7 separate regions of the Homo sapiens genome follow, and all the other regions are linked to region 7. The links are contacts of gene promoters, found by promoter capture Hi-C in blood cells and fetal thymus (Javierre and others, 2016). All regions are on one chromosome and are shown on one strand. The core of a region is centred on a gene start or on the middle of the fragment in contact, and the rest is flanking DNA. Distances in the headings are between cores, read along the strand shown.

The links. Contacts are between HindIII fragments. The CHiCAGO score rates a contact against its expected background, and 5 or more counts as called.
Region 1: a fragment that was not itself captured here is called in contact with the fragment with the promoter of INTS4 in region 7 in 2 of 17 cell types (naive B cells and total B cells); the score reaches 7.1 in naive B cells.
Region 2: a contact is called between a fragment that was not itself captured here and the fragment with the promoter of INTS4 in region 7, in 1 of 17 cell types (naive CD4 T cells). The highest score is 5.7, in naive CD4 T cells.
Region 3: a contact is called between the fragment with the promoter of NARS2 here and the fragment with the promoter of INTS4 in region 7, in 16 of 17 cell types (neutrophils, fetal thymus, activated CD4 T cells and 13 more). The highest score is 31.8, in neutrophils.
Region 4: a fragment that was not itself captured here is called in contact with the fragment with the promoter of INTS4 in region 7 in 1 of 17 cell types (non-activated CD4 T cells); the score reaches 5.8 in non-activated CD4 T cells.
Region 5: a fragment that was not itself captured here is called in contact with the fragment with the promoter of INTS4 in region 7 in 1 of 17 cell types (naive CD8 T cells); the score reaches 6.1 in naive CD8 T cells.
Region 6: a contact is called between a fragment that was not itself captured here and the fragment with the promoter of INTS4 in region 7, in 1 of 17 cell types (neutrophils). The highest score is 5.3, in neutrophils.

What each region holds. Positions count from the first base shown.
Region 1 is chr11:78,539,101-78,543,274 of GRCh38, forward strand. All of the region lies in intron 5 of NARS2 (asparaginyl-tRNA synthetase 2, mitochondrial), which reads right to left. The region is part of intron 1 of NARS2-AS1 (NARS2 antisense RNA 1); the gene reads left to right. Among named protein-coding and RNA genes, the nearest start is that of NARS2-AS1, 8.0 kb to the left of the region's middle. The HindIII fragment of the contact is 285 bases long and covers 2,107-2,391 here.
Region 2 is chr11:77,038,708-77,042,817 of GRCh38, forward strand. It overlaps B3GNT6 (UDP-GlcNAc:betaGal beta-1,3-N-acetylglucosaminyltransferase 6), which reads left to right. Exons shown (of 2, transcript NM_138706.5): 2 at 845-3,266. The coding sequence starts at 845. The coding sequence ends at 1,999. Among named protein-coding and RNA genes, the nearest start is that of ACER3-AS1, 5.1 kb to the left of the region's middle. The HindIII fragment of the contact is 8,137 bases long and covers 1-4,110 here.
Region 3 is chr11:78,573,607-78,577,337 of GRCh38, forward strand. NARS2 (asparaginyl-tRNA synthetase 2, mitochondrial) reads right to left here and starts at 1,258. Exons shown (of 14, transcript NM_024678.6): 1 at 742-1,258. The coding sequence starts at 882. RefSeq lists enhancers at 644-753, 1,414-1,553. The HindIII fragment of the contact is 10,208 bases long and covers 1-3,731 here.
Region 4 is chr11:77,409,524-77,413,722 of GRCh38, forward strand. All of the region lies in intron 1 of PAK1 (p21 (RAC1) activated kinase 1), which reads right to left. Among named protein-coding and RNA genes, the nearest start is that of PAK1, 62 kb to the right of the region's middle. RefSeq lists an enhancer at 1,996-2,115. The HindIII fragment of the contact is 3,839 bases long and covers 1,016-4,199 here.
Region 5 is chr11:77,058,028-77,061,816 of GRCh38, forward strand. LOC105369400 (a long non-coding RNA gene) reads right to left here. Exons shown (of 3, transcript XR_950341.1): 2 at 1,340-1,503; 3 at 374-503. Among named protein-coding and RNA genes, the nearest start is that of CAPN5, 7.0 kb to the right of the region's middle. The HindIII fragment of the contact is 2,438 bases long and covers 668-3,105 here.
Region 6 is chr11:78,613,403-78,617,224 of GRCh38, forward strand. No RefSeq gene overlaps it. Among named protein-coding and RNA genes, the nearest start is that of NARS2, 40 kb to the left of the region's middle. The HindIII fragment of the contact is 1,904 bases long and covers 1,066-2,969 here.
Region 7 is chr11:77,992,376-77,996,064 of GRCh38, forward strand. INTS4 (integrator complex subunit 4) reads right to left here and starts at 2,293. Exons shown (of 23, transcript NM_033547.4): 1 at 2,215-2,293. The coding sequence starts at 2,268. RefSeq lists an enhancer at 2,208-2,407 and a silencer at 2,608-2,677. The HindIII fragment of the contact is 5,814 bases long and covers 1-3,689 here.

The sequences.
Region 1 (4,174 bases), core at 999-3,498, 550 kb after region 7:
TCTAAGATCACAGAGCAGCCACTGAAATGTAAGCATGGGGTTGTGGCATGATGAGTTAAAAAATTCTTCTAGTGTCTTAGCGGAGAACAGATAATAAAGGGATAAGAGTAGAAGTAGGGGCACCAATCAGAAGACAAGAAGAGTAGCTTGAATTAAACTGGTAACATTGGAAACAGAGAAATGGAGAGGTTGAGGATTTATGTTAAAGATGAGCCAACAAAGGACGGATAAATTAGATGTGAGGTTTGGGGAGACAGGCAGGGGAGGTATGAATTAAGTCTGACATCTAGATTTTTTACTTAAGCAAATGAGTAGATGGTAACTTTCACTGAGATAAAAAAAGAAGAGGAAAAGGCTTTGGAGGAAAAAATCAAGAGGTTTATTTAATACATACTATGTTTGAATGCATATTAGACATCAAAGGAGAAATGTCAAGTAGGCAGATGCTTCTACAAATCTGGAGCTCAGAAACAGAACCTGGAGATAAACAGTTTGGGACTGCAGATAAACAGTTTGGCAGTCAGTATGTAGATGGTATGGTACATAAAGCCTTGGAAGTGAATAAAATCGCCAGGGGAGAGATTACAGATTAGTGCTTCTCATTGATGATGATAGTGTTCCCTAGAAAATACTTCAGGAGTCTGTAGAGCATTTAGTGGGCAGGAGTCCAACATGTCCTGCAATATATACAAAGTCCTGCGTAACTAAGCCTTTTCCTGCAATCTCCCAAGTTCCCAATGCTCTGTTAAGGCATTCATATAGTCTATCAACAAAACCACGTGGATTTGAGCTATCTGATAAACAAAGTCATTCCTTTTATCTATCTTCTATAGAGGGTCTTGGTATAAGATTTTGTTTGGAAAACACTTTTGAACAAAAATGTTTGAAAATCAATATAAAGGATGATTACCTCCCATCCTAAACAGTCCATGATAGACTAACCTTTCCCTGATCATATAAAACTTACGTTAGTGCAATAAAACTTAACCTAGCCTTTCTCTATTATGCAAAACAAAAATTTTTGCTAGGTTATTCTGCCACTGGAAGACAGTAAATAGCACAGCCAAGAAAGGGGAAACCAAGAGCTACCAAAAAAATTTTTTTAATGTGTGTATCCCAGTGAATTTCTTACCACACGGATCTAAAATCCTCCCTGTTTCTTTGAGGATTTCCAAGAAAATATTAAACAAGTATTTTGAATTGCCCTCCAGTTATTTGTTCTCACAGCAGAACAAATTTAGCTGAGCAGTTTCACAATCTCAGGAGAATTAAATAGAAAAACCCACACAAGTCCGACTCTGTCTCCATGTAAAATATATAGCAAGGAGCGAGAGTAAATAGCAGTAAGCTGAACAGTGGAAAGGAATATAATCAACAATGGAAAACTTATTTGACCTCTACAATCACTGAAACACCCAATCTATTTTTATCTCCTTTTACTTTTTCCATTTTCTACTTTGTACCCTACCCCCACCTTTTACCCAGTTCTATTTACTCATAATCCCAGAGACAAAAAGTTGGGAAGAGAATACATAAAGATGAAGCATGGTTCAGAAATTTAAAAGGTTTAAAATCATAATGGCATGCTATTGTCCTGTTTACCTCAATCTGCAATTTCCTTTGAAGATCATGAAGAAAAGGGAGAGTACTCACCATCTGTAAGCTCCATATAACCACTGAATATCCTATTTTCTTTCTTGATCCCAATTAAGAGATTAGAGGGAGGCTATGCCTTTCACGATACAGATAGTAAAGAATAAAAAAATCTAAGTTAGATAAAACTTTAATTTTTTCACGCCTGTAATCCCAGCACTTTGGGAGGCCAAGGTAGGCGCATCACCTGAGGTCAGGAGTTCGAGACCAGCCTGGTCAACATGGTGAAACCCCATCTCTACTAAAAATACAAAAATTAGCCAGGCGTGGTGGCGCACGCCTGTATTCCCAGCTACTTGGGAGGCTCAGTCATGAGAATTGCTTGACTCTGGGAGGCAGAGGTTGTTGTGAGCTGAAACTAGTACTATTGTACTCCAGCCTGAGTGACAACAGTGAAACTCCATCTCAAAAAAAAAAATTTTAATTCAACTTCCCTCTTGTAAAAGATGCTAAAGCTTAAAAATGTTAAATGTCAAATGTTAGAATAAATGTTATATACAACTACTTTTTGGTAAGATCAGTTGTAGAATCCAGGTTTCTCAGCTTCTAGTACAATCACCTTTCCAATAAGTCATGTCACTTTTTTTTTTTTTTTGAGATAAGGTCTTGCTATGTCGCCCAGGCTGGTCTTGAACTCCTGGGCTCAAGTGATCCTCTCACCTCTGCCTTCCGATGGGACTACAGGCATATACCACTGTGCCCAGCTCTCGCATTTTTTATCCTGTAGTGTTGAAATAAAGCTTTGGATTAAAATGCTTTTAATATTAGTCTCTCCTAAGTATGAAATGCTGATCATATAACATAAAACAAGCCAGGTGTAGTGGAGGGTGCCTGTAATTCCAGCTACTCGGGAGGCTGAGGCAGGAGGATCACTTGAGTCCAGGAGTTTGAGGTCAATGAGTTATGATCATACCACTGCACTCCAGCCTAGGTGAGAGAGTAAGACTCTGCCTCTAAAATCAATCAACCAACCAAGCAATCAATCATAGGAACTAAATCTGTCATACAGTCTCCAAAGATTTGTGGGTTGGTAGTTTCATGATCCCTATCAAGCTGTATCTCAAATGCAGTTGCTATCATTGCTGCAGAAATTGTTCTGCATGCCATTAGACTGCATCTCATACGTAAAAACCAAAGCCAAGGGAAACAGGCTCAATAAACTGCATTCTATTTTGCCGGTTATGTTAGTTTTGGGATTTGCCTATTAACAAGCCATATATGTAGGTCTTTCACTAATCTAAAAATTTCCAATAAGTCCAGTTTATGTTTCCATACTTTCCACTTGCTACAAATGTGTATCTTGGTGTACACAGAACTGCTAGTATAAAAATAATCTTTCTTAAAATAAGGGTTCATTTACATTCCAGAACACCCACTAACTAGAACACCCACTCAGCCCTGAGAAAGGTTTCATTTAAACAACTATTTGATCAGCAGGAAAGGAAGTTATTAAGTCAGACTGTTTGTAAACAGTGTTTTCCTGCTGAGCAGTCTGAGAAAGAATGAATCAAGAAAAGACGCGTGGAGTCTAATATTAGAGGGTAAGGTTGAGGCAAAACAGAAAGTGAATATACAATGCTGCCTTATTTTTCTTTTACAGGAGATAAACACAAATGTAAAATTGCAAAACAGCAAACTTATTCCTAAATGTAAAGGGGTCGGTGAAAAATGAACCAAACTTTTTTTCACTATTGCTTGAAAAATATTAATTTTGGCTTATTCATTGTCAGATTGGGGCTTTAAGGATGAATATGATAAGATATGGTCCTAGTCCGTTAACTAGGACTTCTGTGAGAAGGGATACCTATGCTCCAGAGTTAAGTCTCCAAACCACGTATCCACACAAAGGACTTGACTACCACTAAACACAGCAGGTACTCAATAAATACTTATAAATCCCAGCACTTCGGTGGGGTGGAGGCAGGAGGATTGCTTGAGACCAGGAGTTCAAGACCAGCCTGAGCAACATAGTGAGACCCTGACTCTACTTTAAAAATTAGCTGGGTGTGGTGGTGCGCACCTGTAGTTTTAGTAACTCTAGAGGCTGGAGTGGGTGGATCACTTGAGCTCAGGAGGTCAAGGCTGCAGACAGCCATGATCGCTGGCTCATCACTGCACTCCCAACAGGGCGACAGAGCGAGACCTTGGGTCAAAACAAACCCCCCCACAAAATATACTTTCTTGCAGTTGCTGCAAGGAGGAAGTTAAGTTATTGATAACTGGAACAGAAGGGCTTGGTTGCCCTTTACCTCTGGCTGTGGTAATCAAGAGTAAGTTAGCCAAGTACGGTGGTGGGTGCCTGTAATCCCAGCCACTAGGGAGGCTGAGGCACAAGAACTGCTTGAACCCAGGAGGCAGAGGTTGCAGTGGGCTGAGATGGTGCCACTGCACTCTAGCCTGGGCAACAGAGCAAAACTACGTGTCAAAAAAAAAGAATAAGCCATTATAAAGCATACTCATATAAAAGTCACGATTTTGATGCTATCCAAAGATTATCCAAAAGGGATTCACATCATTTTTT
Region 2 (4,110 bases), core at 1,045-3,544, 950 kb before region 7:
GAGGTGCACCTGGGCAGGCTACATGCAGGAGAGGGCCTGAAGGTGAATGTTTGGGAACAGCAAATAATACCAGCAGGTAGAATGAGGAGGCAGAGCTAGAGGATGCCGTGGAGATCATCTCACCCATAAGGTCATATCACCCGTGTCACCCAGTCACTGGCCACTTCATACTCATTTCATGCTCACAACAGCCCTGCAGTAGGAATTCACTAACCCTTCGTCACAGATGAGAACACTCAGACCCAGCCATCGGAACTGACTGTTCAGACGGTGCAGATGGGGAAGTGGGGATGGCAGAATTCGGCTCTGGGTCTGAGTTCAGTGCTATCACCTCATGCTTCCTCGACTCGGGAGGCAACGAGGGGAAGTGATTAGAGATGATCCGAGCTGGACAGAGGCGGAGAGGAGGGAATAAATGAGAGGGATGTAGGGCGCAGAATCAACAGGATGCGGAGAGCAGGTAGCAGCTGAGAAGGACAAGGAAGAAGGCTGGGGCTTCTGGCTGGAGTAGTCAGGTGAACGGAGGTGGGAACAGCAGGGTATGGGTTCAGGGGAAGATGGAGACTCAGACGATGAGTCCACTGGGCCTATGTGACGGGTTGTGGGGCGGTGTTGTCAGGAGGCAAAGAGAGACTCAAATCTGAAGGTCAGAGGAACGGTCCGGAGTGTGGGAGACCAGAGACCGTCAGTGTAATCTTGGATTTTGATTCCTTTTTACCACTTAACAGCAGAGTTGAGAAGGGGCTGGAGCTGGGTTCTGGGAGAGAAGTGACGGGGTACGGGTGGTGTCCTGCCGGTGTCAAAGACGACTTCCGGCTCACCTCTGACTCGGTTTCCCCCACAGATGGCTTTTCCCTGCCGCAGGTCCCTGACTGCCAAGACTCTGGCCTGCCTCCTGGTGGGCGTGAGTTTCTTAGCACTGCAGCAGTGGTTCCTCCAGGCGCCAAGGTCCCCGCGGGAGGAGAGGTCCCCGCAGGAGGAGACGCCAGAGGGTCCCACCGACGCTCCCGCGGCTGACGAGCCGCCCTCGGAGCTCGTCCCCGGGCCCCCGTGCGTGGCGAACGCCTCGGCGAACGCCACGGCCGACTTCGAGCAGCTGCCCGCGCGCATCCAGGACTTCCTGCGGTACCGCCACTGCCGCCACTTCCCGCTGCTTTGGGACGCACCGGCCAAGTGCGCCGGCGGCCGAGGCGTGTTCCTGCTCCTGGCGGTGAAGTCGGCGCCTGAGCACTACGAGCGACGCGAGCTCATCCGGCGCACGTGGGGGCAAGAGCGCAGCTACGGCGGGCGGCCAGTGCGCCGCCTCTTTCTATTGGGCACCCCGGGCCCCGAGGACGAGGCGCGCGCGGAGCGGCTGGCGGAGCTGGTGGCGCTGGAGGCGCGCGAGCACGGCGACGTGCTGCAGTGGGCCTTCGCGGACACCTTCCTCAACCTCACGCTCAAGCACCTGCACTTGCTCGACTGGCTGGCTGCACGCTGCCCGCACGCGCGCTTTCTGCTCAGCGGCGACGACGACGTGTTCGTGCACACCGCCAACGTAGTCCGCTTCCTGCAGGCGCAGCCACCCGGCCGCCACCTGTTCTCCGGCCAGCTCATGGAGGGCTCCGTGCCCATCCGCGACAGCTGGAGCAAGTACTTCGTGCCGCCGCAGCTCTTCCCCGGGTCCGCTTACCCGGTGTACTGCAGCGGCGGCGGCTTCCTCCTGTCCGGCCCCACGGCCCGGGCCCTGCGCGCGGCCGCCCGCCACACCCCGCTCTTCCCCATCGACGACGCCTACATGGGCATGTGTCTGGAGCGCGCCGGCCTGGCGCCCAGCGGCCACGAGGGCATCCGACCCTTCGGCGTGCAGCTGCCTGGCGCACAGCAGTCCTCCTTCGACCCCTGCATGTACCGCGAGTTGCTGCTAGTGCACCGCTTCGCGCCCTACGAGATGCTGCTCATGTGGAAGGCGCTGCACAGCCCCGCGCTCAGCTGTGACCGGGGACACCGGGTCTCCTGAGGCCAGTTGGGCGGCTTCAGCCCCGGGCCTCCAACCATGTCCATGCTGAGAAGGCAGCTTTCCCGCTCTGGGTACCTTACGTCCTGCCCAGCTCTGTGCACCTGAACCCCAGCTGCGCACTGAAATCAGCTGGGGTGGGGGGTGTGGAAAATGCCTACATCCTGGCTCCATCTCCCGAAGTTTCGATTTGATTAGTCTGGGGTGGACCCAGACATGTTAAGTATTTTTTAAGTTCCTCCAGTGATGCGAATGTGCAGCTAGGCCTGAGGACCACTCGGCTAGACTATCTCTTCATCCTCGCAAAGCCAGCTCCACCGCCCTCTCTGCAAGAATTCCGGGCCCCTCGCTCCCACACTCGGGTCCTCTTGAGCAGTGGAGCAAGGGAGACCTGGGAGCGTGGGAGCCAGGATCAGCGCCCCCTGCCATGTGCCTACAAATGTCAGTTGTGATTTCCACTGTTTACAAGTGAGTGGAGCTGGAGCTGGGCTGACAGTATCAGGTGGATCCCGCTTCCCCCTCCCCCAAGAAGTCAGCCAACACGCAGCTGAGGCGCATGTGGTGGCCTTCTTCCCACCACTACCCCAGTACACCGTGAGGTAGAAATCTTCACCGTGCAAAGTGGAAACCAGAGGCCCGGTCAGACAGTGACTAATCCAGGGCCGTGGCATTCCCAGACAGCACACCACTGTGGTCCCCTCCACACTCACCCCAACCAAAGCTAATGGCCTAGTTGGGTCCTGCCCGCCAATAATCACCCCCACGGGTCAGAGACAGGCTCCTTGCCGGGGTCTGGGCCTCAGGCTCAGTGGGCCTTGGACAACCCAGCAGGGAGTTCCGGGGAGTCCGAAGTGGAGAAAGGCTGGTGGGAACATGGAGGCCAGTGTTGGGGAGCCTGTGGAGGCAGGTGTGTAGAATTGTGTTCGGGAGGTGGGGGATCTGAGACCGAAGTGGACAGTGGTTAAGATTGTGGGGCCGGGCGAGGTGGCTCACGCCTGTAATCCCAGCACTTTGGGAGGCTGAGGAGGTCGGATCATGAGGTCAAGAGTTCGAGACCAGCCTGGCCAATATGGTGAAACCCCGTCTCTATTGGGAGTACAAAAATTAGCCGGCCATAGTGGCTCGTGCCTGTAATCTCAGCTATTTGGGAGGCTGAGGCAGGAGAATCACTTGAACCTGGGAGGCGGAGGTTGCAGTGAGCCGAGATCGTGCCACTGCACTCCAGCCTGGGCGACAGAGCAAGACTGCATCTCAAAAAAAAAAAAAAAAAGGAGAGTTTGCAAGGGTGGGTGGGAACTTGGTGCCTGGGGCTCTGAGAACCAGGCTGTGGTCCTGACCTCCAGCAGCTGCCAGTCATCTTGGCAACATAGAAAATCAAGGAAACGGCCTAAAGGCAGGCAGAAGTGTGTGTCAGCAAGGTCCCAACTATGTAAGATGGACACGAGGGACTCACCTTCAGGGAGGAAAGAGCCGGGGCAGAACGTCAGGAGACTGGCCAAAGGTCCTTCCCTGCCTTCAGGACGAAGACTAGACTCCTCAGTCCTGCATTTCAGGCTCCTGCCACCCGCCTGCTGCTCACTGATCCCTCCCTCCCACTGTCAGCCTCCATCCAGGTGGCAGTGCCTGCGCTTTGTCAGGCTCTCTCTTGTCTCTGCATTTTGCACAAGCTCTGACCTAGTTACCGAAATGTCCTCCAACCACCTCCATCCTGCATGTCTCTTGCACCAGTTAGGACGCCTGTCGGGGAAGCTGCCAGCTGCCCACCTGAGTCGGCTGTTCCCTTCCTCCTGGGCACTCACCTAGACTCCATTTCCCAGCACTCCGTCCCCTGAAGTTAGATGTGGCCCTGTGACTAGGCCCTCATGGATGGACGGGAGTGGATGAGGATCACTGTGGCACCTGGGCCTGCTTATGCTCTCTTCCTCCTTCCCATTCGCTGGAACATGGATGGGCCTGGGACCCAGCTCTGACTTTGCAAGTGAGGACAATGCTTCAGGCCCAAGTGGAAGTTTCTCAACTACTGACATTTGGGGCAGGACGGTTCTTTGTTGTGGGGGGCAGTCCCGTGCATTGTAAAACATTCAGCAGCATCCATGTCCTCCACTCACTAGATA
Region 3 (3,731 bases), core at 8-2,507, 580 kb after region 7:
CACCTCTTCTATGTGGAGCTGCTGCAAATAATATAATCAGCAAGAGAAACAATAGCAGCTAACATTTGTAGACTATGAGCCACTGTTCTAAATATCTTACTTCCATTACCTCATTTAATTTTCAGGACTCAGGGACAATTATTATCTCTTTCCATAAGAGGAAAATAAGGTGTAGAACGCATAAACGCTATGCAGAGATTTAAACCTAAGCAGCTTAACTCCAGAGCTCTTTCAAACTGCTACATTCCAGTCTTTCTCCGAATTCATTAAAAATAAATTACATGCAGACCCCCACAATAGGCACTGAGGTCGCTAAAAGTTTAAAAGGCATGGTTTGAACAAGTATTTGCTGTCAGCCATGTGTGAATACAAAGGCAGGTAAGACACGGTTTCTGCTCTCAAGGAGGGAGGTCAAGACAACCACTTTATAAACCTGGATATTCATTATAAGGGATAAAGATAGAGAAAGGGGGCTTGTTCATTTACACTTTTGGTATGATTAACAAGTTTACAGGTAATACCCTGGAATCATGAAAGCAAAGTTCCAGCGCTTTACAGTTATCGGAACAGTTTTGTGAAAAGTAATGGAAATCAGAAAAGTGCAAACCCGCGACGCCTACACTTTCTAACTTTTCCCTGCTGGCGGTTGTGTCTGACCCGACTGTAAAAGAAAAGCTAGATGTGGATGTGCCATATAAAAGTCCCTACAAGAAAAAACCCACTCCCTTCCCATTCACCAACCTGGATCTTAATGCGCTCCCCACTCGCGTTCTGAGCCCCGAGAGCGTCCCGCACGCTCAGTTTGGCTGAAGGTTTGTGCTTGGGGAAGGGGGCGGAGGAACAGAAGCGCACGGACCGCAGCAGGCAGCGGACCCCCAGCATCCCGCGTCCGCCCAGGCCCTCCGCGGGAGCAGCCCAGACCCCACGGTTCGAACCCCGCCTGCAGCGGCCCTCCTTTCTCAGCTGCTCCCCTTCCGCGGCCGCAGCTCTGCTCTAAGGCACTCCAGAGCCCCTCGGCTGCGCGCTTTCTCCTTCAGGACTCCCAGCTCTGTCCCCACAGAACCTCTCCGCTTCCCACTTCCCAACGGGGCGGAATGGACAGGACACTAGGCAAACGCCAGAAAGAAACCACGTGCAGTTGGCAGCTGGGGCGCCCCACTACCCGCGACAATTGTAAACCTACGAACAGAACCCGGGCCGCAACACGCGCAACCACTCCTACCACACCACGCCAACGCCGCTTACGTCATCACGCTACGGGGAAGAAGGGAGAGCATGCGTACTTGTGACCCAGGCTTAGGGAGGCGTGCGGGAGGGGGCGGGGTCAGGAGCCGAGACGGGGCGGAGCTAATGCCCTAAGGTTGTAGAGATTATCGCTGAAAGAACGTGGGAGCACATCTGAGGGTCTTCATTTCTAAAGTTTCCAGGTGAGGCTGAGAAACTGAGAGGCAAGGAGTGACTGATGGAGAGGGAAACCGTCTCCATCAGTCAACAATAGGGATCCAAGTAAGAGGAGGCTCTTAGCTGTTAACAGGATTCGCTTGAAGAGATCAGTCGTTCCTTTCCTGAGTACTCCGCAGAGAAAAATCAGACATAGCCCCAATGCGCAAGTCACAGTTGTGTGGTATCAGACAGCTAAACAGACAGTTGCATAAAAGGGCGATCAGTTTGCCTGACAGAGCCTAAGCGTGGGACGCCAGAGATGGCTTCCTGGAGAAAGTAGTCCTCTGACAGGTAAATAAAAGGAACTGGAGGGACCTTGCATATGGCAGGCAAGACGGTGGGAAGATGTTGCAGAGACTGGAGGAAACTCGAGTGTTTCCTGCCAGAATCCTCCAAGTCTCCCTCTTCCCTCTGCCCTCCAACACAGCTATCTGCATTTGTTTGACCTGGAAACAATGACCCTTTTATATATTAGGCTACGTTTTATTAAAAAAAAAATTCTGTAACTCAATGACGGTCATTAAAAGGTTTTTAATCTAATTTAAAAAGTAAAACGTTTGGCCAAGTGCGGTGGCTCACGCCTGTAATCCCAACTCTTAGGGAGGCAGAAGCAGGAGGATTGCTTCAGCCCAGGAGTTCAAGACCAGCGCTCGCCCTCGCTGTCTCTCTCCCGCTCCCTCTCACTCTCACTCTCTCTCTCTCACTTTTACCTTACTTAAAGTTGCTACTATTATTATACCCATTTTACAAATGAGAGAACTTACGCACAGAAAGGCTAGATGACCTACTTAAGGATACACATTCCCTAAGTGTGAGATTTAAACCCAGAAGTGCTGGCTCTATGCACTTAAGCAGTATGCTGTATTACATAGTGTCCCAAGGTGATCTGTTCCATCAAGGAGCTCATGCTTTAGAGATGGAGACAAGCAAGAAAAGAGACTACTGAAATATAAACCAGTAAGTGCACACATAGATGTATGAGTTGTCTGCATTTGTTTGGACTGAAAAGTCACCCTTATATATTAGGCTACCTCTTAAATTTATCCAAAAAATTATTTTTGATATTTTATCCAAATATTATATTGGATAAAATATAATACAATTATAATATATACATGTATCACAATTTTATATTTTATATAATATAAATGTGTTCCCTGGTTCTTTTAATAAATTAAAATTATAAATATAATAAAATTATAATTATAAATTATAATATATAATTAAATTATATTGGATATATTATATATTATATACTTATAATATAAAATATGTTGGATAAAATATAATATAGTCTAGAGAAGGAGAAAATTAAGCTGAATTTTTGAAGTGGATCAATATTTTGCCAGGTAGGCATGTAAGAAAATTTCCTGCCAGAAGGTGAACACGGAAGGTTGCCAGGAGGGCAAATGGCCTGGAAAAATTGTAAAATCATTCTTAAGACAGGCTAGAAAATATCTCATCTGAAAATACTTGATGTTGGAGGTGGAACCTAGTGAGAAGTGTTTGGATCATGAAGGCCTTGGTGCCACCCTTGCAGGAGTGAATTCTCAGTCCATTAGTTTTTGCAAAGCTGATTGTTGAAAAGAGCCTGGCACCCCCCTCCCTCTCTCTTCCTTCCTCTTTTGCCATGTGATGTTTGCTCCCCTTTGCCTTCCTGAATGGCTGAATGACAACAAACCTTGACATTATTTACTTTGAGTGGAAGCAGATTCTGGTGCGATGCTTCTTGCACAGCCTGCAGAACTGTGCAAATAAATGAATACACTTCTTATCGATCAAAAAAAATATATAGGCCAGGCGCAGTGGCTCACGCCTGTAATCCTAGCACTTTGGGAGGCCAAGGTGGGCAGACTGCCTGAGCTCAGCCTGGGCAACATGGTGAAACCCTATCTCTACTAAAATATAAAAAATTAGCTGGATGTGGCAGCATGTGCCTGTAGTCCCAGCTACTCGGGAGGCTGACGCAGGAGAATTGCCTGAACCTGGGAGGCAGAGGTTGCGGTAAGCTGAGATCACGTCACTGCACTCCAGCCTCAGCAACTGAGTGAGACTCTGTCTCAAAAAAAAAAAGAAAAAGAAAAGAAAAGAAAAGAAAAAAATACTTGGGCACTTCTTGAACCTTGAGAAAGGAAAAATGGAAACTTGCAGCCAATGCCTTCAGAATTATGCAGCTATGGACTTTTAAGGGAAAAAAAGTTCGCTCGTTCAAAATCTGGGGAACAAGACAGTCTGGGGTACATAACAATGATGTTTATCCCAGTGAAAATCTTTTCTTTGCCTATGCC
Region 4 (4,199 bases), core at 1,685-4,184, 580 kb before region 7:
AGCCAAAATGAAAATGTGTATATACACAATATATATTTGTGTATATATGTATATATACACACAACGGAATATTATTCAGCCATAAAAAAGAATAAAATCCTGTCATTTGCAGCAACATGGATGACACTGGATACCATTTTTTCAGGTAAAAAAAAAGCCAGGTACAGGAAGACAAATATCACATGTTCTCACTCATATGTAGGAGGTAAAAAAAGTAGATCTCATGATGATACAGAGTAGACTGGTGGTTACCAAAGGCCAGGAAAGGGAGTGAGGAGGATGAAGGGGGAAAAAAAGATATAAATGTACTTACTGAAACTGAACTGTACACTTAAACATGATAAACATGGTAAATTCTTTCAAAATTTTTAACTAAAAAAAAATTTGCTGAGTAGAAATCAGTTCAAAAAGCCAGTCATCAAAGGGGAAGATAATTAACCTATATAGTCCCCTTTCCCAGACTATAATCTTTCTCTTTCTACACACAAATAACCACTATCTTGTCCAGGCCACCCTCTTCTTCAAAAGAGCACTGTCTTCTCCTCCAGGCCTCCTCCTCCTCCTGTCCCTCCAACCCATCCCTGCTATCCTCCCTCTTCTTTCCTGGGCTACCTCCTTTCCTCCAGATCAGCACTATCTCACAGCTGCCAGAGTTTCTGGTCCTCCCAGTCACTCATCTCACTAAAGGGAACTTGAGCCTCTGCCCAGCACTACTTGACATTCTTGCTCTCCTCCCACTCAGGCCCCCCACTTCCCATCTTGCTTATTCCCTACTGCCTACCTGCTTGCTGCCCCACCACCACCAGCAAAGATGGGAAACAAATGCAGGAAGAGGGAGTGCTTGTTGGCAGGCCCAAGGCAAGGCACAGAGGCAGTAAAGAGAGAGAATGGTCCTGGGGAAGATAGAATTTGGAGGTAAAAGCTAGATGCAAGTGAGTTAGGTAGAAAACAATGTTTGGACCTCATAAACACAGGAAAAGGTCTCTACAAACCAGTAACCTACTAATAATAAGAAAGCTTAACCAAAAATTTTAGAAAAGAGAAGAAAGCCTAATCAAGAGGGGGAGGATCCAAGAGAGGGAAGGAAAGACTGGCTACACAGGGGGAGAAATACAAAAGGGGAAGCATGAGGGGAGGAGGAAGGGTGAAGGGGACGGCGGGAGAAAAGGTAGGCAGGGGGCAGGAAAAATGATCAGGAGGAGGAAATAGAAAGAAAAGTGAGGAGAGGAAGACGTAGAGTCATGAAAAAACTAGGGGGAGGAAAGAGGTCCAAAATAATCAAAGTAGGTTATTATCGGGCCTGACATGAGCTTCTTGGTGCCAGGTAATAAAGAAGGAAAGAATTATAGTGATTAAGATATTACCACAGCCAGGTCTGTCATTAACTTAGCAGAATAAGGAAGGGGCTCCAGAGAAGAGAGTCTAGTTTAACGCAACTTTATACCTAAGGACAGAAAAACTGGCCAGTTTAGAATCATTAACATACCTTGACCTTCTACTTCCCAACCCTACCTCCCTACACCTAACACACCTACGCATCACACTAAAATAAGCATCAGCATTCTCAGTCTCTGCTTTGTCCCTGAAGAACCACCAAGATGCCATTCAAAAGGCTGGCTGGAAGACAGGATACCAAGGTCTACTTCCCAAGTTCTCCTCTCTTCTACAGTGTTGAGGGGGACATCTCTGCAGCCCATTTTAGCACTTTAAACCAGCTCACCTCTCCAAAAGATGGTTTGACAGTCTGGAAAAGCCAGAGTAACAAACAATGTCAAGTCCTTCACTGCACAGATATGGCAACTCAAGCCACAGAGGATGTCTGAATAGGACCAGTCCCCCCAGGTCTCCTCCCTCCCAGTTCACTCAACCTCTTAACACAGAAAAGCCCCCACAGTCCCAGCAGGCCAGCGACTAAGCCAAGGCAGAGGAAAGCACCACGTTGGCCACCAAGCAGAAGGGCGCTTGCAAAGGAGCAGAGCTTCTGAGGCTGAGCGGTTCCCCAAAGGCGCAGCTTCCCCTTCACACCCTTCCCTGGGCAGAGCTCTGATTCCAGTGCAGGCCTAGCCCTGGGTGGGCTCATCTAAAGGTTCCACCCTCAGCCCTTTCTCTCATTTAGGGTCCCTTAAGGTAAGAGGAAAGTAAGACACCCCTCAAAATCTACTGGACCCCGTGTCACCACTCTCCGAAAGCCGGCGGAGATCCCCCAGAACCCGGCCCAGCTAGGGGAGCCCCAGGCAGGGCCGGCATTACCTGGTGGGGAAGGCTAGCCCCGGCATCTCTGGCGATTGTTTCCGTCGCAGAGCCGCACCTCTCCCTGCCCAACCGGGTACCCACAAGGCCCCTGCTCCACCGGCTCCGCTCGATTCAGCTGGGCTGGGCTCCTGGCAGCTCAGCCGCCAGCTCCCGAGGTGCAGCACGCTCGCGCTCTCGCAGGGCGGCAGCGAAGGCGCCGCGTCGGGGTTGGCGAAACAGAAGGGGCGGGGGAAGAAAGGAGGGAAGGAGGCGGGAGGAAGCCGCGCGCTTCTCCTTTTCTGCAAAGCAGAGCTGAGGGCGGGGAGACAGCTATCTTCCCACCCTCTCAGCTATTCTCCCCACCCAGTCTCCAGCAGGAGGTAATTTCTCTCCAGGGCCAGGTTTTCCAGGGCTTGTCAGAGTCCTGTGTGAGCTCCAGAGTCAAGAAAGACAACCAGAGCTCCTCTGTGCCTTAGTTTCTACAGATGAGTATAGAGGAGTCCCTTCTAAGATTCCTCAGGTCAGACCTACGATTCAGATTAGGCCTCAGAGAAAGAGATACACCTCCCCCCTCCCCAAACGTGCCAGGTTCTAATTCTAATGCTCCAGGAAGAATGCTAGGTGGGCCCCTATAGCTGCCTCTAAGCAAACAAAGCTCAGCAGCTGCTACATTATTATTATTATTATTTTGAGACAAGAGTCTTGCTGTGTGCCCAGGCTGGAGTGCAGTGGTTGGATCTTGACTCACTGCAGCCTTGACCTTCCTGGGCTCAAGTAATCCTCCCACCTCAGCCTCCCAAGTAGCTGGGACTACAGGTACCTGCCACCACACCCAGTTATTTTTATATTTTTTGTACAGATGGGGTCTGCCATGTTGCCCAGGCTGGTCTCAAATCCTGTTCTCAAGCAATCCTCTTCCCTTGGCCTCCCAAACTGTGGATTACAGGCATGAGCCACCACACCTAGCCACTGCTACCATTTATTAAGAACTATTATGTACTAGGTACTTTATAAATGTTATGTCTCTCTCAAAACAACCTTATGAAGTAGGCACTATACCAATTCACATACGTCAAAACGGAGGTCCAGGGAAAATGTCCAGGGCTCATACAATAAGTATTTTTTAACCAACTATTGTGCATCAGGCATTGTGATGGAACCTGAGCTGAACAACACATTATAGAACATTTACCAACACGGCCCAGACTAGTAGTGCCTCTAGTAGTGCCTCCCAATTACTGAAACAATAAAACACACCTTCACACATTTGCAAATGCTCCCTAGGAGGTAGTATTACCTCACTCTTCCCCCTCCCAAACCCTGCTCTTAAGAGACATGACAGAAGTCAGATTATGCGGTGTCTCTTTCGGGTCATAATTAGGAGTTAGGCTTTTGTTCCAAGTTTTAGCAGTGGGAAGGCTTTGAAAGGTTTGAAAGCAGAATGACAAACTCTAACTTACATTTTTTAAAAGATCACTGGCTGTTCAGTGGAGAAAGGGGGTAGGAGTGGAAATAAGTTAATAACTTCTCTCAGAGGTTCAGGCAACAGAAAATAGTAATGATTTAGACTAACATATTGTAAGATAATGTAAAAAGAAGCAAGCCTATTTTCTAAAGACACAGCTTGGAAGAAGCAGCAGCAGAACTTGGTGGAAAACAGAATACGATGGTGAAAGAAGTCAGTGACTTCTCCAAGACCACACATCTGGTAAATGCTCAGGAGTTCAAGGCCAGCCTGGCCAACATGGTGAAACCCCGTCTCTACTAAAAACACAAAAAATTAGCTGGATGGTGGCAGGCACCTGTAATCCCAGCTACTCGGGAGGCTGAGGCAGGAGAATCCCTTGAACCCAGGAGGCGGAAGTTGCAGTGAGCTGAGATCGCACCACTGGACTCCAGCCTGGGCAACAAGAGCGAAACTCCATCTCAAAAAAAGAAAAAGGAAAAAAAGGAAAGAAAAGGAAGGA
Region 5 (3,789 bases), core at 637-3,136, 930 kb before region 7:
AGTGGGGGCAGATGTACACATATCAGCCTAGGGGCAGGGTGGGGGCAGGTGCCGCTGCCTCTGGGCCCCAGATTGCACAGGGAGGACGCAGGCACCCCTCCTGCCCACCCTTACTCTTGAACCCTGCCAGCTGCTGCTGGCCTGTAGGACGCTGGAGAATCCAGGGACCCTGGGGACCCACAGGCCCCTCTTTGGCAATATGCAGGCAGCAGCCCCAGGTGCCGGCTTGGCTCCAGTTCTCTCCACTGGCTGGGGTCTTGGGCGGGATTTTCTCACTCCCAGGGTCGCGGGGCTACATCAGGAGCTTGCAGGGCCTGGCAGGAGGATTTAGGTGGACACTCCTAGCACTTGGGAAAACAGTCTGGCAGTTCCTCAAAAAGTTAAACATGGAGTTACCCTATGACCCAGGAAGTCCACTCCCAGACATATACCCGAGAGAGCTGAAGACAGATGTCCACTCCAAATCTTGCACATGCAGCCTGGGTTACACAGTGAGACTCCATCTCCACAAAAAAATAAAAATAAAAATTAGCCGGGCATGGGGATGCATGCCTGTAGTCCCAGCTATTAGGGAGGCTGAGGTGTGAGAATCAGTTGAGCCTGAGAAGTCGAGGCTGCAATGAGCCGTGATCACACCACTGCACTCCAGCCTGGGCCACAGAGTGAAAGCTTGTCTCAAAAAAAACCTTGCACATGAATATTCAAAGCATTATTCACAGTAGCCAAAGAGTGGAAAAATCCCAAATGTCTGTCAACAGATGAATGAATAAACAAAATGTGGTATATTCATACAATGGAATATTATCCAGCCCTAAAAAAGAATGAAGTACAGATCCATGCTACAACATAGATGGACCTTGCAAACATTATGCTAAGTGAAAGAAGCTAGACTTTGGAAGGCCAAGGCAGGAGGATCACTTGAGACCAGGAGCTGGAGATGAGCCTAGGCAACAGAGTATGACTCTGTCTCTACAAAAATTAAAAAGTTAGCTGGGCACATTGGCACACACCTGTAGTCCCACCTATTCAGGAGGCTGAGGCAGGAGGATTGCTTGAGCCCAGGAGTTTGAGGCTGCAGTGAGCTGTCATCACGTGACTGCACTCCAACCTGAGCAACAGAGTGAGACCCTGTCCCCCCGCAAAAAAAAAGAAAAGAAAAGAAAGAAAGAAGCCAGACTCAAAAGGCCACATATTGTATGATTTCAGTATATGAAATACCTGCAATAGCCAAATCCATTGAGATAGGATTTGAGGTTGCCAGGGGATAAGGGGATAAGGGGAGGGGGAAATGGAGAATGCTTGGGTATGAGGTTTCTATTGGGGTGGTGAAAATCCCGACCTCTAGATTAGCAGAGCATCCAGTTTCTCTGTATTAGAGCCCTCCATCCAATTATAAAGAAGAATCCAATGGGGAGCGTGCTTCCTCTATCCAATGGACCAGTAGTGTTTCCAAATCTCCACAAGCAGTGCCTTGTGGAGATGTTACTGGAAAGGACTCCCAATCTGAAATTAGATAGTGGTGATGGTTGCACAGTTTTGTAAATATACTAAAAACTACTGCATTTTATACTTTAAAGGATGAATTTTATGGCATGTAAATGATATCTCAATAAGAAAAATTAAAAAGATATAGTCAGAGAAGTGTCACTCCCTGCTCTTCCCTGCCATCCTATCCCATTCAACAGTTCTTTCCACTCCTTTCCACCTGTCCCTGTAGGTAGCCAATCGCACCAGTTTCTGATCTTTCCTTCTTGTACTTCTCTGCATAGATGAGCAGACACCTGTGTATGTTCTTATATTGTCTTCTCTCTCCATGTGTGTTCTGGGATTCACACTATCAATTCAATGTGCTCCTCCTCATTTTCTTTTACAGCTGCTTAATGCTCCATTGCTTGGATATACTACAATTTATTCAACCACTCTCCCACTTGTGGGTATGTAGATTGTTTCCAATATTTGCAATTAAAAAGAACGCGTCACTGAAAAAGGCTTTGCATGTGTATTTCCATACTGCCAGAGGTATGGGTTCTGAGTAGATTCCGAGAAGTGGAGTTGCCTCGGGTTAAAGGGTACATGCGTATGTAATTTTCTTAGGTATTACCAATTCCCCTAGAATTGTACCAAATTGTACCAAATTGTATTCCCACCAGCAACAGCTGTGAGTGACTGTTTCCCTACAACTTGGTGAACAGAATGTGTTGTGATCTTTTTTATTGTCAGTCTGAAAAGTGAAAAATGGCATCTCACTGTAGAGCGATTTGCCTCGCTCTAATTACCAGTGTCCTTGAATATTTTTTTCATAAGTTTGAGGGCCATTTTAATATCTTTTTTGGTTAGTTACCTGTTGGTGCCTTTCCCCTCACTTTACCATTGGATTTGGTGGTTTGTGGTATTTTGTTATAGCAGCCCGAGCTGACTAAGACAGGTGGCTTTGTTTTTTACACTTAGATCCCTAATCCATTCAGTTTATTCTTTTGTTGGATGTGTGCTATGGTTTAGATGTTTGTCCCCTCCGAGGCTCATGTTCAAATGTGATTTCTAGGGTTGGAGTGGGGCCTGATGGGAGGTGTTTGGCTCATGGAGGTGGTCCCTCATGAATAGATTAATGCCTTCCCTGGGGGTGAGTGACTTCTCACTCTCTTAGTTCCTGGGAGAGCTGCTTGTTGAAAGATTCTGGCACCCTCTCCCCTCTCTCTTGCTTCTCCTCTTGCCATGTGATATCTGCTCACATCAGCTCTCCTTCACCTTCCACCATGAGTGGAAGCAGCCTGAGGCCCTCACCAGATGCCCAGTCTTGAACTTTCCAACCATCAGAATTATGGGCCAAATAAACCTTTTTTCTTTATAAATCACCCAGTCTCAGGTATTCCTTTGCAGCAACACAACACAAAATATGACAGTGTAACATATGGATTTAATTTTATCTTTTTCCAAATGGCTCCCAGTTGTCCCGGCATTATCTATTGCAAAGTCTATGTTTAGTGTGTAGCAAAGGCAACATCTCAAATTAGTGGGGTAAAGATGTTTTGGGTCTAATCCTAGATTTTCTAGTCTATTCCAATTTATCTATTCATGTACCAGAACCATCCCAGTTTTAATTACAGAAGCTTTTTTTTAATTTTTTTTTTAATGTCTGGCAAGTCTAGTTTTCTCTCATGGTTTTTCTTTTCCAATGTCTTCTTATCTGTTCTTGCAAGTTTATTTTTCTATGTGAACTTTTGTATCAACATGTCTATCTTCATAAAATACCTTGCTGTTTCTTTTATTGGGATTACATGGAGTTTAACATTAACTTAGGGAGGACTAACACCATTACAATGTTGACTTTTCCTGTGCAAACAAAGGGATATTTTTCTGTTTGTTTTCCTTTCGTGTCTTTCAAAAATGTTCTAAAAATTTCATCATGGCCAGGCGTGATGGCTTACGCCTATAATCCCAGCACTTTGGGAGGCCAAGGTGGGCAGATCACCTGAGTTCAGGGGTTTGAGACCAGCCTGGCCAACATGGTGAAACCCCATCTCTACTAAAAATAAGAAAATTAGCCAGGTGTGGTGATGCACACCTGTAATTCCATCTACTAAGGAGGCTGAGACACAAGAATCACTTGAACCCAGGAGGCGGAAGTGAGCTGAGATTGCGCTACTGCACTCCAGCCTGGCGACAGAGTGAAACTCTGTTTAAAAAAAAAAAAAAAAAAAATCCTCATATAGGTTTATACATAAAGGCCATTATATTTTACATGTTAATTTTGTATCCTGCTACTTCACTGAACTCCTTTACTATTTGAAT
Region 6 (3,822 bases), core at 768-3,267, 620 kb after region 7:
TGAAGTCCTAAGTAGAACCAAATGGCTGACATTCCTCATGTAAGAGAGAATTCCTCCTGCTGGCCTGTCTGCCTTTGAACTGGGACGTGGACTTTTCCCTGCCTTCACATTCAAACTCAAAGATAGGCATTTCCTGGTTCCCAAACCTGCCAGTCTTTGGACTGGAACTACGTCATCAGTTCTGGGTCTCAGTCCTTTGGACTCAAACCAGAACAACATAATTGGCTCTCTTGAGTCTCTAACTTCCCGACTCACCCTGCAGGTCTTGGAAATTAAGACCAGCCTGGGCAACAAAGCAAGATCTCGTCATTACAGATAATAATAACAAAGTTAGCCCGGCATGGTGGCATGCACCTGTAGTCCCAGCTACTTGGGAAGCTGAGGTGTGAGTATTGCTTGAGCCCAGGAGGCCGAGGCTGCAGTGAACTATGATTGTGCCACTGTACTTAAACCTGGGTGACCAAGTGAAACAGTGAGACCCTGTCTCAATTTTTTTTCTTTTTGTCTTTGATTTTCTGCAGTTTCAATATAATATGCCTGTGTGTAAATGTCTTGATATATATCCTGCTTGGTGTTTTCTGGGCTTCTTGGATCTGTGGTATGGTGTCTATCATTATTCTGGAAAATTCTTAGTCATTTGGAGTAATTATTTTGTTCCTTTCTTCTCCTTCTGATATTCCCTTTACATGTATGTTATACCATTTGTCATTGCCCCACATTTCTTGGCTATTACATTCTATTCCTCCCCCCCTCCACTTGCTTCCAATTTGCTTTTCATTTTGGGGTTTTTATTGACATATCTTTAAGTTCATTGATTATTTCCTCATCTGTGTCCAGTCTACTGGTGAAGCCATCAAAGGCATTCTTCATTTCTGTTATATATTTTTTTGATTTTAAAGATTCCTTTTGAATTATTTTTAGAGTTCCCATTTCTCTGCTTACATAACCATCTGTTTTACATGTTGGTAACATTTTCATTAGCGCTCTTAGCATATTAATTATAGTTCTTTCAAGTTTCTTGTCTGATAGTTCCAAATTTTGTGTCATACCTGAGTCTGGTTCTGAAGCTTGTTCTAGCTCTTAGACTATGTTTCTGCTTTCTAGCATGCCTTGCCATTTTTGTTCAAAGCTGGACATGATGTATTGACTAAAAGAAACTGAGTTAAATAGGCTTGTATCGTGAGGTTTTGTGTTTATCTGGCTAAAAGCTAGGTTAGGTTTACTATTTGCCATAGCTGTAGGTGTCAGAGGCTAAAACTTGCTCTAATGTCCTTGTTTCTGTCTCCCTGTTGTCTTTGGATTTTTTTCCTTCTTTTCTTTTTTTTTTCTTTGAGACAGAGTCTTACTCTGTTGCTCAGGCTGGAGTGCACTGGCGCAATGCAACTTCCGCCTCCTGGGTTCAAGCAATTCTCCTGACTCAGCCTCCCAAGTAGTTGGGGTTACAGTCATGCGCCACCACGCCCAGATAATTTTTGTATTTTTAGTAGAGATAGGGTTTTGCCATGTTGGCCAGGCTAGTCTCGAACTCCTGACCTCAGGTGATCCACCTGCCTCAGCCTCCCAAAGTGCTGGGATTATAGGCATGAGCCACCGTACCCAGCCTGTCTTTGGATTTCTTTAGAGACTCCTTCCAAAGCCAGCCTGAGCCTTGAAGTTATTTCAGTTGTAATCCCCTGTTATTATGTAGGAGCCTGACTGATGTGGTGGTAAGGAGAGGTATATTAGGATTCTCTAGAGGGTCAGCATTAATAGAATAGATATATGTATGAAGGGGAGTTTATTAAGGAGTATTGACTCACACGATCACAAGGTGAGTCCCGTAATAGGCGGTCTGCAAGTTGAGGAGCAAGGAAGCTAGTCCAAGTCCCAAAACCTCAAAAGTAGGGAAGCCAACAGTGCAACCTTCAGTTGTGGCTGAAGGCCCGAGATCCCCTGGCAAACCACTGGTATAAGTCCAAGAGTCCAAAAGCTGAAGAACTTGGAGTCCGATGTTCAGGGACAGGAAGTATCCAGCACAGGAGAAAGAGGAAGGCCGGAAGATTCAGTAAAGTCAAGTCCTTCCATATTCTTCTTCTACCTGCTTTTATCCTAGCCATGCTGGCAGCTGATTAGATGGTGCCTATCCAGATTGAGGGTGGATCTGCTTCTCCCAGTCCACCCACTCAAATGTTAATCTCCTTTGGCAATACTCTCACAGACACACCCAGGAACAATACTTTGTATCTTTCAATCCAATGAAGTTGACACTCAATATTAACCATCACAACAGAGGAAGCATTCTATAATTCTAATGTTATGTCTTATTCTGCTAGTCTTTTATTGAGCCTATGTCCTAGGGCTATAACCTTCCCAAGTGCTTCTCAGCTCTTTTTCCTCCCTTAGGTAGGGCAAGAAGGCTAGAAGGTTTTGGAATTGGGTATTTTTCATTCTCTGGGTAGGTAAGGCTCTGGAAAATAATTTCCCTGAGGGAAGGCTTTTGTTAAGAAGAACAGAATGCTGTAGGTGTATTTCACAATCATTGCTTTTTCCTCCCCCTGGTGGAAGCGTGAAAGGATTTTTCTCTGAGAACCTGGTGGGGTTCCTAAGGACAAACTCATAAAAGTGTGGGGATCTCCCTAAAATTGAGCCCCCAGAGTTTTAACTCTCAAACTAGTACACAGGGAGCCTCCAGTGATTTGCCAATTACAGTTTGCTTAAGCATTCCTACCACATTAACAACTTCAGTGAGATAATTTTCATGTGACTCAAAATTGAGAAGAAACGAAAGAAAATATTGATAATTTGTATATTAAAAATTCCTTTGCACAGCAAAACTCATTGCAAACAAAGTTAAAAGACAAATGACAACTAGGAAAATATTTGCTACTCAAACGACAAATAAAGGCCTAAATATTTTAAAAATTGAGAAAAAAGGACAATTATTTAGAAAAGTGGACAAAAGATAGAAACATACATTTTACAGAAACAAAAGCTTTTCCATATGTGAAAACTTGCTTAACCTCAGTCATGAGATATACAAATTAAAACTTGCTTATGTTGTTGATTTATCAGTTTTCATTTATCAGATTGGTAAACATCCAGAATTTTGACAACATAGTCTATTGGGAAGGCTGTATGGGAATTAGGCACTCTGGCACTCTAACACATTTCTGGGAGAATTGTGAATGACACAACTTTGGAATGGAATTTGGCAACATACTAGCAAAATTCATTTACTTTTTTATTGTTGTTTAGAGACAGGGTCACCAAGGCCCCCAGGCTGGTCCTGAACCTCTGGCCCCAAGTGATCCTCCCACCTTGACCCCACAAAGTGCTAAGACCACAGACATGAGCCACCAAGCTTGGCCTCATTTACCTTTTGACTCAGCAATCTTACTTCCAGAAGTATGGAAGTGTGATTCCAGAAGTGTGATTCCAAAGATATTATCAACAAAAATAAAATACAACTTATGCATTTCATTGTGATTTAATTTATAATAACAAATGATTGGGGATATCTCAAATGTTTGTTAATAGGGGACTAGTTGAAGAAATGATGGTACAACCACACAATGAAGTACTAGGAAGCCGTGAAAACTGATGAAAAGATCACTGTGTATTGATATAGAGTGATTTCTAGAATATATTGTTAGGTGGGGGAAAAATTAAGGTACAAAACAAGGTTTAGTATGCCAATTTTTGCAAAATAAAATAAAATAGAATAAAATAAAATAGCAAACCAAAATCTATTAAGGTGTTCCATGTGAAGAGAGAGAGAACAGCATGTAGAAGATAGGCATAGTAGTGAGATTTCTGTAAATTTAGGTTATATAGTTTTGACTT
Region 7 (3,689 bases), core at 1,043-3,542:
AGCGAAACTCCATCTCAAAACAGAAGAAAAGGAAACAAATATCCGATGGGCGTAGTGGCTTACACCTGAAATCCTAGCACTTTGGGAGGCTGAGGCAGGAGGATCCCTTGAGCCCAGGAGTTCGAGACCAGCCTGGGCAACATGGTGAAATCCTGTCTCTGTTAAAAAATAATAATAAAATAAAATAAATTTCCTTACCACCTAATGGTGCGTTTTTATGTACTGAGCAATCACCTCCTTACAAATTCACATTTCTATAGAAAAGAGAGTAGAATTATTCTAGACAAGAACACAGTATGACATGATAAAAAGAATAAGGACTTTGGAGTCAGAGGAATTTGTATTCAATTACAACTTACTAGCTGGGGAAGGCCTTCTTCTATAGGAGGGCATACCAATACTTTATTATCACAGAGCTAGTCGATAAATCTGTTATTAAACATAACTTTATTATACGTATATGTAAGTGCTAGGCACATATCAGTTCTCCCTCCTCATCTTTTCAGCGGAGAAAAAAGAACAGAAGCACTAAGATCTCATTTAATCACTTTATGTTAACAACTGATGAAAAATTAAGTGAAGAAATTAGCTCTTCCCTTAAAATTCTTAGCCATTTCTATCCTAGTCCTCTCAAACTCAGTTTTCAGTCTTATCGAAGCTGTAGTTAGGTCAAAAGCTAGGAATTTTTTCCCTAAGTATTATATAAGGGAGAGGACAAGCAATATCAACTGTCATTCAACCACCAATAACACTTTAGTGAGCCAGGCCCTATTGTCCATCTCCAGGACACGGAGATGAGCCAGGCATTAGCTCTGCCATCAAGGACCTCCGACTGGTGGGAAGATAGGTACACCGGTAATGACAGCAGCACTGAACAAAAAGTACAAATAGATTAGTACCACAGAATGCTACAGAAACAGGTGAAGAAGAGACTAAGCTCTCGCTGAGGTTTCATTTGGGTCTTGAAGCACAAATGTTAAGTCCACTGGGTGGAGAACAAAAAGAAAGGGAAGAATGGCATGTATTCTGTGAGAAGAGACAACCAGTGCAAGAGTTTTGAGATATGCAAACACAAGAACACATGGCATATCTGGTCATGTGAGGATGGGTGGAAGAGGGCTGAGCAGTCTTGGGAAATGGGAACAACAGAATGTTGGGAAGAGAGGAAATCACATTGTGCAACAGTGCTAATGTTCTTAATGCCACTGAACTTTATACTTAAAATTGTTAAAATTGTAAATTTTATATTATGTATTGACATATTTTGTATTTGTATTAACATATTTTAATGCTGGATGAATGAATCCATGTAATGTTTAAGGATCAGTATCCTGCTGGATGCTCTAAGCCTTGCCACTCTACAAGTCTAAGGATCTAAGAATGCAACCAATGCACTGGTGTAAATTTGGGGGCATGTCAGGAATGCAGAATCTTGCCTCACCTCCTCTGCTTGACTTATCAAATAGAATCGACATTTGAACAACGTCCCCAGGTAATTTGTATACACATTAATATCTGAGAAATAGGACATCAGGATGATTTAGGATCAACCCTAGCAACATCTACGTGGAGACACATGGAGCATCACTGACTCCCGACAGGGACTCTGCCCACCTGTCACAACTTCATGGTGAGGAAGGTACTGCCCTCCTTCCTAGGTGAGCTGTTCTACCAATAGAGAGCTCTTCCCCTATGAAGTCTGTGACCCCCGCCTGCTTAGACTGCGCCTGAAGGAATTCTATAGACCCTTCTTTCAGCCCCTTAGAACCTTGTGTATATTCCAACTGGTCCCTGGGAGGTTTTTTTTTGGAACGGGGGTGCGGGGAGGCTAGAAGGGGCTCTGCTGCTAACTGGCTGTATCCTCGTACCCCTCCGGAAGGCTCAATGTCCACATCTGGAAAACGAGGATGCTAATGTAACGCGATGGAGCAAAGTTGTGTGAGAGAATAAAATGAAATAACGGATAAGACAGTTTCGTAAATTAAAAAACACTGTTTCTCCTAATAATTTTTTTAAAATCCTGTCAGACTTCACATATTAATGACAACAGCGGCTGCAAACTAACACGCCCACTAACTTGCAATATCAGAGATTATCAACAAGTCAGCACTTAACACGGGCGTATGGAGCCTCTTCTGTTCCGGCAAAGTGCCTGGGATTTGGATAATCTACCCTGGTCCGGATCGGTTCTGGATCTTTCCCGCCAGAGCTTACCTGAACCACTTTCGTGAATTCCTCATAAACCCGCTTCTTAAGGTGCGCCGCCATGCCTACCCGCGGGCCCTCTCAGCTTCCGTACACTAGGAGGGAGGCGGGGGTGGACGGATCCGGAAAACTTGCGTAGGCGCGGGGGGTGGGTGGATGACTTGCCGAGATCCCACAAGGCAGTGGGATTTGGGGAAAGAGCGACCGCTTCCTGTTGCTCGACTGCCTCGCCACTGTACGGACTGATTTGGCGGCCTACGCCGGAAGAACGGAAATAAGAGCTTCGCTTGTGGGAGGCGGGGCCTCTGGCGGGAGGAGCTGAGACTGAAAGGGTGGGCAACCCAATGGGAGCTTTGGGAGGCTGGTTGGTGGCCTCGGAGTGGCTAAGAGACTAGCGCGGCGCGGCGCGAAGGGAGGGAGGGAGGAAGTACAGGTTAAAGGGCAGAGGCGGGGTGCTCCAGAGCTAGAGGCAAAACCCGGAGCTCTGTAAGGGGTTTACGACTCGTGAAAAAACTCAGAGGCTCGGCTGACTTTCCCATCATCCTTTGCTGTACACGATGCTGTTTGTAGGTTTCCTGAGCACTGCCTTTGTTCAAGCTGTGCGCCACCTCTCTTGTTTTGGGGTGCCTTTCCATACTTCCTTATTCCAGTTTTGCAAAAGCTGCCATCCTTTAAGGCATCAATCCCTGCTCTGATAGCTATAGTACAGTAGAAGACTTCTGAGACCAAGGATAAAGCAACAAAGCTACAGACTACAGCTCTGGTTCTTGAGCAAATGGCTCAACTACAAATGCATTTATAATAACTAACCTGACAAAGATGTGACAATGGAGTGAAATAATGCAGGAACATTTTACGGACTGTAAGGTGTAGTGCACATGTTAGTGTCAGTAAATCCAAGGTCAAGTTTTACAACCTACATGAAACTAGCTGTTCATTATTTTGGTCTTTCAAAAGAATGTGGGCCAGGCGCGGTGGCTCATGCCTGTAATCCCAATACTTTGGCAGGCCGAGGCGGATGGATCACTTGAGGTCAGGAGTTCGAGACCAGCCTGGCCAACATGGGGAAACCCCGTCTCTACTAAAAATACAAAAATTAGTCGGGGCATGGTGGCACACGCCTGTAATCCCAGTTTCTTGGGAGGTTGAGGCAGAAGAATCACTTGAACATGGGAAGCGGAGGTTGCAGTGAGCCGAGATCGCGCCACTGCACTCCAGCCTGGGCGACTGAGCGAGACTCCGTTATCAAAAAAAAAAAAAAAGAATTAATGTGGGATAGTTTAAAAAAAAAAAAGCAGGAGGCTGAGGTGGATACAGAGGACCCAAAAATAAACAAAAGATAGTATTTATCCTCAAGGTCCTACAATCTGAGAAGACAGACACCCAAACTGATGGTGACAGTGCAACTGAAATGTGCTGGGTAACGGGAATGAATGTGGTTCAAACAGACCTAATTTCTTCAGAGTGCCTCAGGGAAGGCTTTC